3 separate regions of the Homo sapiens genome follow, and regions 2 and 3 are each linked to region 1. The links are contacts of gene promoters, found by promoter capture Hi-C in blood cells and fetal thymus (Javierre and others, 2016). All regions are on one chromosome and are shown on one strand. Each heading gives the region's core, a stretch centred on a gene start or on the middle of the fragment in contact. The rest is flanking DNA. Distances are from core to core; before and after follow the strand shown. Region 1 holds the start of RGS5-AS1 (RGS5 antisense RNA 1). Region 2 has its middle 50 kb from the start of CCDC190. Region 3 has its middle 79 kb from the start of RGS4.

Region 1 (2,887 bases), core at 285-2,784:
CATGTAGCCCTAAGGATTTAGTGTGACTGAAAAGGATTATATATGGGCACATAAATATTTATTCTTCTCCTTAAAGGTTTTGAAAACATGAAAATAGTTCTGCTAACTCTCAGGTTTTTTGACAATAGCAATAAATACCTGTGCTCAGAGTACTAGTATTCATAATTTATCAATAGGTCATCTGTCAATCTGCTATTGGCCCAGAAACCACTAAGGCAAGACAATAAGTCCATTAATAAACATAAATATTATTCTACTAGTTGACCTTGTGGAATTTCTAGGTCCAAGAAGCAAAATGAATTTAGTTCATTCACTCATTCACTACATAACTATTCACCAAACATCTTACATGTGTCAGGGCAGGGTACTTTGTTTAGCACAAGAAAAAAAGAGAGAGAATCAGAAATGAATAAGCTAGAGAAAGTTCCAAATTAGAGACTGTGGGGTTCTGTCTCCAAAAATAAAAGATTAATTCTATTGCAGGTAAGCAGAAGCTTATGACACCAAAAGCAAGACATAAGGAATGTTCATATACAATTCAACATATATTCTTTGTCATCTACTCTGTGCCCATTAATCATAATGGTCTTGTGAGAAATATTTTGTAAATCCTTATCTTTGCAAAGCATGTGACAAAGTTTCATATTCCATTCTTGTTATAAAGATGGAGAAATATAGGTAGGGTATTTTAAATTGACTCATACTTTTAGAGTGAATTATTCAACAAATATTTGTTTTCCCGATACTATATACTTCCTGTTTTGAAATTATCTACATGAAAAAGACTAATTCTTGCCCGTTTGTGAGTTTATAACCTATCATAGAAGTGAGCCAACTATGAACAGAACATAAGGCAGCAAGTATTAAGTAGAATAAAAGATGTGCAGACAAATGACTTTGGAATTTCAGAGGGTGGATAAATTGTTCTGGATGGTCAAGGAACACTAGGCATTTCTTATTTGAATTATCTATTATAGGAGAGGGAGAATTTCAAGAGAGAGAGATATGAGTAAAAGATATTCCAGCCAAGGGGATTATATGTAGAAATCCTATATGGAACAGAGAACTGTTCAATTTGCCTGCAGACCGGCCATATAGTTATGGTGATCTTGAACATCAGAAATTTGAACTTGGTACTGTAAGCCATGGGAATCAGTAAGGATTTTGGATTGGGGAAATGCACCTAGTGCTTATTGATGCACTGGTATTAGCTTGGAAAAGAGTCTGCACTGATCAGCACCTTTGTCATTTCTTGAATTAAGATGTAAAAGGCATGGTGCCAGAAGAGGAAACGGAGGCTGGGGGAGATAACAACCCATGTCAGGTCACAAGAGCAGTTGACAGTATAATAGTTTGAACCAGGATGTACTACTCATGACTTGTTAGCGATCTTTATGCTGCTATATCTGATCTTTATCAATTTATTATGAGGCTAAGTCAGGAAATGTAATTTCTCTATTTTACTGATGAGAATGTTGAGGAGGTCAAGCCACTTGTTCTGGCTCATGCAAGTAAGCAGGACAGATGGGAACACAACTGCAATCATGAGTCTTCAGAACACCTTATGTTCACATTCCCTCATAGTGCCACAGACCCTCCTTTTCTTGTGAACTGGATAATCACATACCTGCAGCCCCCTTCCCTTATTGATATCACCTTCAAAAATTGAAGAAATGTCAACATTGGGGAAGAAGAACACAGGTAATACAAAGATGTTTTTTGTTTCTGTCTCTAACCTGACCTTTATTTAAAAAAACAAACAATGGAAACTTACAGTTGTTCTGCAGGAGTTTGTCCAGGGAATCACGCCACTGCAGGGCCTCGTCCAGCGAGGTTCTACATCAATAATAAGGAGAGAAAAGGGGTATGGCGTAAGTAGGCATTGAACCACATGTACCAGCAATAACTACTTCCTGTTTCTCTTAGATGGAAATGATATGACTGCTGGTCTATCCTCAGGACAAGGAAGTTTAAGTTATTTTCTCTCTAACAATTGGGTTTGATGAGCTGGGTTTGCTTTCATACATCTTTATTGCATATCTTCATCTTTTTTGAACATTTTGGTTAGGTCTTTCCCTTTTTAAAAGTAGAGTTCGTTTGACATTAAGCTGTGTCTTGATAGTCTTATGTATCCCATGAAAGTTGTTCCAACTGTGGTCTTTTTTCCAAATATAACTTCATGAAATCCAGTTGTCCCATTACAGAGATTGAACTCCTGTTCTCTGCCTCACCAATACTGCATGTTAACCACCTAACTGAATCAGCAGAGGGCATTGGGGTTCCACATCCACATCCCAAAGCTGTCTAATTAAGGATAGTGGAAGATGTGAGTGTATAATGCTTTCCTTATGTTGGGATTGTGATCATAGCAAATTTACATGTTAAAAACGTAGGCGCATTTTTCCTACCCACTTATAACAGGATCAGACTTTTTTTTAAAGATTTACTCTTTCTAATTTAAAAAAAAAAAGAGTGGTTAATATATCCTGAACAGGAATGTTATACACAAATGCTTGAGATGCTGACTCAAAAGGAGAAGGTTATAGCCAACATATAATTTCTCCTTAGGCTGTTTCTATTTTAACATTTATATATGCAGAAACCCTGAAGCTATTTCATCTCAACCACCAATTTTTCTCTCACAGCAGGATGTGTCAAGTGGAGCTGATATTGTCCGGGAAAAATGGCTGACTGCACACTCTTCGGCTCACCCAGCTCGAACTCTTGCATTATGATGTGAGTTCTTCGTTGCCAAATCAAAACAGACTGACAAAGCATTTACTAGAATATTAAGGCCAGTTTTTCCTAAACTGGAATTTCCTTAGCTCTTAATTTGTTTATCAACTGTCCAGGCAATCAAAAAAAATTCCTGCTTCTAGTTTTTATA
Region 2 (2,887 bases), core at 254-2,753, 250 kb before region 1:
ACGAGGTCAGGAGATCAAGACCATCCTGGCTAACACGGTGAAACCCCGTCTCTACTAAAAATACAAAAAATTAGCCGGGCGTGGTAGTGGGCGCCTGTAGTCCCAGCTACTTGGGAGGCTGAGGCAGGAGAATGGTGTGAACCTGGGAGGTGGAGCTTGCAGTGAGCTGAGAACGTGCCACTGCACTCCAGCCTGGGTGCCAGAGTGACACTCCATCTCAAAAAAAAAAAAAAAAAAAGAAAGTGGGGTATTCAAATATCTATTATCATTGAATTGTGCCTATTTTGCTCTTTAATTCTATAGTTTTTGCTACAGTAGCTAAGTTTATTGGTGTTTATGATTGTTATCTCCACTTGATGAGTTGATTTTTATTATTATAAAGGGTCCCTGTGGCATAATAAGAAAGATGTTTAGCCTTTGTCCCCAGTTTCTGGCACAGAGCTTCTAAGACTCTTGGAATTCTTTAAGCGATATGGATTTTGAACTGTCTTTTGTTCTAATGAGGTGACTCTTCTTGGAAGGCCACTAGATAGCTTCAGGAAGGGAGCTGGTCTCCAGAAAAGCCAAGTTTTAGAAGTTTCAGCCCCATACTCCAAACTCCAGGGAGAAAAGAAGGACTAGAGACTGAGTTAATCATCAATAGCAATTTAATCACAGACTATGATTTAATCAGTCGTGCCTATGTAATGAAACCTCCATAAGCTATTCTAAATGATGAGGTTCAGAGAGTTTCCAGATTAGTGAACACATCAAGAAGCTGAGAAATTTGCATGCCCAGTGTGGCATGGAAGCTCTGTGCCTCCCCTCTCCATACCCTGTCCTGTGTTTCTCTTTCATGCCTCAAAAAGTTGTATTCTTTGTTCCGATGTGTCTCCTTTGTAATAATTGGTGAATAGCAAGTAAAAACACTTTACTGAGTTCTGTGAGTTGTTCTGGCAAATTATCAAAACTGAGCTGAATGTGAGGCCATGGGGGAGGTTATGAGGAACCCCAGATTTGTAGCCATGTCAGAAAGAAGTCTGGGTAATCTGAGGATCTATGGCTAGTGTCTAAAGTGAGGGCAGTTTTGTGGGACTGAGCTCTCAAACCTGTGAAGTCTAATGCTAATTCTGTGCAGTTGGTGTCAGAACTAAATTGAATTATAGGACACTTAGTTGTTTGAGAGTTGAAGAAGTGTTATTGCAAAAGACTACATATCTGGTGTCAGGAGGAAGAAAGTCTTCAGTAACAATTTTTTCTTAAAGTCTATTTTGTTTGGATTAGCTCAGTCACTCTACTCTCTTTTGATTACTTGTTGTATGATACATCTTTTTTGAGTCTTTTACTTTCAACCTATTTGTGTCTCTGAATCTGAAGTGTTTTTCTCTAGACAACAAATAGTTGAATCATTTAAAAATTTGTTCTGCCAATCTCTTTCAATCTCTTTTAAGTGCTTAATGCATTTATATTTTATATAATTATTATACTTATTAATTATGATTAATGCATTATAGTTTATATAGTTACTGGTAAAGGATTTAAATCTGACAGTCTTCATTTTCTACATGTCTTTTTTTGTTTGTTACTCCATTACTGTCTTCTTTTCTATTAACTAGATACTTTCTAGTGTACCATTTTAATTCCCTTATCAATGTTTACTATTTTTTTGAGTTATTCTCTTAGTGGTTGTCCTGGGGATTACAATGAACATATTCTTTTTAATAATTTAGTTTGGATTAATACCAATTTAGTTGAGACAGTATATAATATATATAGCTCCAATCTCTCCTTGTTCCTTTGTGATGTTATTGTTCTACAATTTGTATTTTTATGTATTATTTGACTGTCAGTATAGATTTATAATTATTTCTTTACGCAATTGACTTTTAAGTCAAATGGAAGAAAAAAGAGCTACAAACAAAAGATAGACTTATACTGTGTTTTATATTTGCTTATGTAGTTACCTTACTAGTATTTTATTTCTGCATGTGGATTAAAACTACTGTCAGCCGGGCGCAGTGGCTCACGCCTGTAATCCCAGCACTTTTGAAGGCTGAGGTGGGCAGATCATGAGGTCAGGGGTTCGAGACCAGCCTGGCTAACATGGTGAAACCCCAACTCTACTAAAAATACAAAAATTAGCCTGGCGTGGTGGCAGGTCTCTGTAATTCCAGCTACTTAGGAGGCTGAGGCAGGAGAATTGCTTGAACCTGGGAGGTGAAGGTTGCAGTGAGCAGAGATCATGCCACTGCACTCCAGCCTGGGCAACAGAGCAAGACTCAGTCTTGGGGAAAAACAAACAAACAAACAAACAAACAAACAAACAAACAAGCTACTGTCTAGCATCCTCTCATTTCAGCCTAAAGGAAACACTTCAGTGTTTTTTGGTAGGGCAGGTGTGCTAATAATAAATTCTCTTGTTTTTATTTATTTACAAATGTTTTAATTTCTCCTGCATTTTTGAAAAACACCTTTACTGGTCTGCTGGATATAGAGTTCCTGTTTAATAGTTTTGTCTTTTTTTTTTTTAAAAATCTGTCAGCACTTTGAATATGTCATCTCATTGCCTTCTATTCCCCATTGTTTCTGATGAGAAATCAGTTGTTAATCTTATTGAGAATCTCTTGTGTATGTGAAAAGTCACTTCTCTCTTGCTGCTTTCAAAATTATTTCAGTCATTTGACAGTTTGATTATGACATATGGATTCCTTGATGTTTATCTTATTTGGAGTATGTTGAGTTTCTTGGATGTGTAGATTAATGGTTTTCATCAAAATCTGGGAAGTTTTCAGCCATTATTTCTTCAGATATCCTTTCTTTCCTTTTTTCGTTCTGCTCTTCTTTTGTGTATGTCAATGAACTTGATGCTATCCCACAGGTTTCTTAGACTGTTCATTTTCCTTATTCT
Region 3 (2,887 bases), core at 276-2,775, 170 kb before region 1:
GACTTTGAAATCCCTTTGTCAGACCCTGTTCCTCCACCCCTAGACTGGATTCCCCAGGTGACACTAATGGGGAGTGAGGTAAAGGAAGGTGTCATTACAAGTTTCCCACCTCCAGGGGATGCTCTATCTTGGGAAAAGACCTGCAGAACCCTCTGAGGCACCTGGTGGATTTTAGATCAGGGACACTGCTGCCCCTCACATGCGTCCTATGAAAGGAGATAAAACGATTGATCTCAGTATCCTTTCCCATCCCCGGGGCATTGGGTCAAGGTTGTTTAAGGATCATGTGGTTTCCAAGTAGTTTAGAATTCCAGCTTATCTCTCCCCATTTCATCACTCAGCTTTAGAATGCTCTAAGCCAATTGCAATTAAAGTTCTAATGGAAATCTCATAAGGTAGTGAGTTCAGGAGGTTTTCTAACTAGAATAAACACAGCCACTACTTAGTGATCTTGGATAAGTCACATACTTTTTCTGCAGCGATCTATATACAATGTAAAGCCTGTAGGATTAAAACAGAAATAAAATCCTTAACACTTCTAATATCCTACGAGTGTAAATGATCATTCCCATGCAACCCCCTACAAACCCTCATCACCACCCCAAATTCAGCTCATCAGAAAGAATTAGCACATACTTAATATTTATTCCTCCTATTTTTTTCTCTTGAAGAATTGTGAAGTTATAGAACTTGAGAGTTGAAATGGGTCCCAGGAAGAAAATGGCAGTAGCTGTGCAGTGGATGTCTCCCTCGCTGTGTGAAGAAAATGTGTATCTCTAGATCAAAGAGGCAAGAGCCGGTCATCATTGCCAGTTTTCAGATCAGGAATTGGAGGACTTTAGAAGAAAGCACAGGTGCCTTCTTACCCCTAGGACAGGTTATGGCATTTTCCTCTGTCAACCACAGTCTCTTGTTGAGCTATTCCCCTAAACAGTGATTCCTTCTCCCCAACCTATATTCTCTTCTTTGCCCTGCTCCATCTAAAATCTGCTCTCAGGCCCTTCCCTGCACAAATTCTTCATTCCAACTAAAGTATATGCATTAAAATTGTACTCTATACTGAAGGCTTTGGAATTTAACCTCATTTCATGCCTAGGGAACACATTATAGGGGCAGATCCATATTTGAGCATAGGCTTCTCCACAGAAATCCTCCCTGCTCCAGCCACATCCTCCCCACTCCAGTCTTGCTGTGGATAGCACAGACAAACCATGTGTCCAATGTGGGATCCAAGTGAAAAGACAAAAGGACTCGATGTCACCTTTTTGGACCCATTCTCTTAAGCTGAGGGGACATTTCTAGACTTCTGTTAAATGTTATTTCTTTGGCACCTTCCACACTGAGAGTAAAGATGCTGACTTCAAGGTTCTACATTTTACAAAAAGCTAGAGATGTTCTTTTTAATCTCACTAAATGTGTATTTGAAGAGCCTCAAGAATTCACGTTTCTAAAGAGACACATTGCCCTCGTCCTGTCTCCTGTCCTGTGAGGTTTTACGTCAGCCCACCTTTATTGTCTTTGTGTGTCATCTGTCAGTGGGCTCTCTGGAGCCAAGATGAGGACACTCTTTTCAAGCACTTACCAAGCCTCCCTTCAAGCAATGGCATCAGTGGAAATTCTGTGAGAAAAAGAAGAAGGGTGACTTCTGGAGAGAACTAAGTGCAGTTCATGGCATTCGATGCTCATTATGAAAAGCCATCACAAGGTGCAGCACCCTGATTTTTTCAGTGTACCCCAAAGTATTAGGCTTTTCTTTCACTGTTCTCACAGTGTTTGTCATAGTTTATTGTCATAAACTTTACAGCCATGAACACTGGCATTATTCAGGGAGTTTTTCAACATTTTCCCTAATCTCATGACCATGGCTTCTGGTATTCTTATCCATTAATCACTGTGACTCCTTCACCATACCCGCTTATCTTATTTCAAGAGGGCAACGTAAAACACATATCCAACCTCAGATGTTCATTTATGTTAATACTTAATGGCCATTCCCCTTAAAAAATCCAGAAGGTATCATTCCAGCCCCCAAGGAACTCATACTCAGTAGCGGGAGGCTGACTAACATTTAAAAAATCCAGGCTGTGTGCAGTGGCTCACACCTGTAATCCTAGCACTCTGGGAGGCCAAGGCGGGAGGATTGCCTGAGCTCAGAAGTTTGAGACCAGTCTGGGAAACATGGTGAAACCCCATCTCTACTACAAAAAAAAAAAAAAAATTAGCCAGGTGTGGCGGCATGTGCCTGTAGTCCCAGCTACTCGGGAGGCTGAGGCAGGAGAATTCCTTGAACCCGGGAGGCGGAGGTTGCAGTGAACCAAGATTGAGTCGTCACTGCACTCCAGCCTGGGTGATGGAGCGAGACTCCATCTCTTAAAAACAAAAAAAACAAAAAACTGAAGTAATGTGGTGAGTGGAAATGGAGGCAGATACTATGTTATGCGAAGGCTAGAGGACAAATTAGTTAACTTCATGTGTGCAAATGTGGAGAGGTTCAAGAAGGAGAGTGGGGGGAGGCAAAGCAGGCAGAAATGGGAGTTAGAGAAAGCAGACAGGAGAGGTGGCCGTGGGAATTGAATTTTGAAGGTTAAACAAAAACTTGTTGAAGAATACTCCAGCTAGATCTCTGTAGCTGGAGAGATACTGGTACTGCAAACCAGAGGTACGGGTACTGCAAACAAGTTGAAACAGCATTGCAGATCTTCAGGAAACCACAAAAGGCCCAGCAGAGCTGGAGGGGGCTGTTTGGTGTGAGATGGAGTAGGGCAACAGGCGATCACCTGCCCCATGTGCGTGCTGTGGCGAGAAGACTGGAATCTCTATGAGGTATTAGGGGTCTCATTAAGCAGGTGAGCGAGAGATTTAGAAAGAAGAGTGGTGCTGACACACT

The links. Contacts are between HindIII fragments. The CHiCAGO score rates a contact against its expected background, and 5 or more counts as called.
Region 2: a contact is called between a fragment that was not itself captured here and the fragment with the promoter of RGS5-AS1 in region 1, in 3 of 17 cell types (monocytes, M2 macrophages and endothelial precursors). The highest score is 7.5, in monocytes.
Region 3: a fragment that was not itself captured here is called in contact with the fragment with the promoter of RGS5-AS1 in region 1 in 1 of 17 cell types (monocytes); the score reaches 5.2 in monocytes.

Annotation. Positions count from the first base shown.
Region 1 is chr1:163,160,141-163,163,027 of GRCh38, forward strand. RGS5-AS1 (RGS5 antisense RNA 1) reads left to right here and starts at 1,535. Exons shown (of 4, transcript NR_110699.1): 1 at 1,535-1,701; 2 at 2,646-2,736. It overlaps RGS5 (regulator of G protein signaling 5), which reads right to left. Exons shown (of 5, transcript NM_003617.4): 3 at 1,775-1,836. The HindIII fragment of the contact is 14,512 bases long and covers 493-2,887 here.
Region 2 is chr1:162,909,664-162,912,550 of GRCh38, forward strand. No RefSeq gene overlaps it. Among named protein-coding and RNA genes, the nearest start is that of CCDC190, 50 kb to the left of the region's middle. The HindIII fragment of the contact is 5,166 bases long and covers 1-2,887 here.
Region 3 is chr1:162,988,940-162,991,826 of GRCh38, forward strand. No RefSeq gene overlaps it. Among named protein-coding and RNA genes, the nearest start is that of RGS4, 79 kb to the right of the region's middle. The HindIII fragment of the contact is 4,782 bases long and covers 1-2,887 here.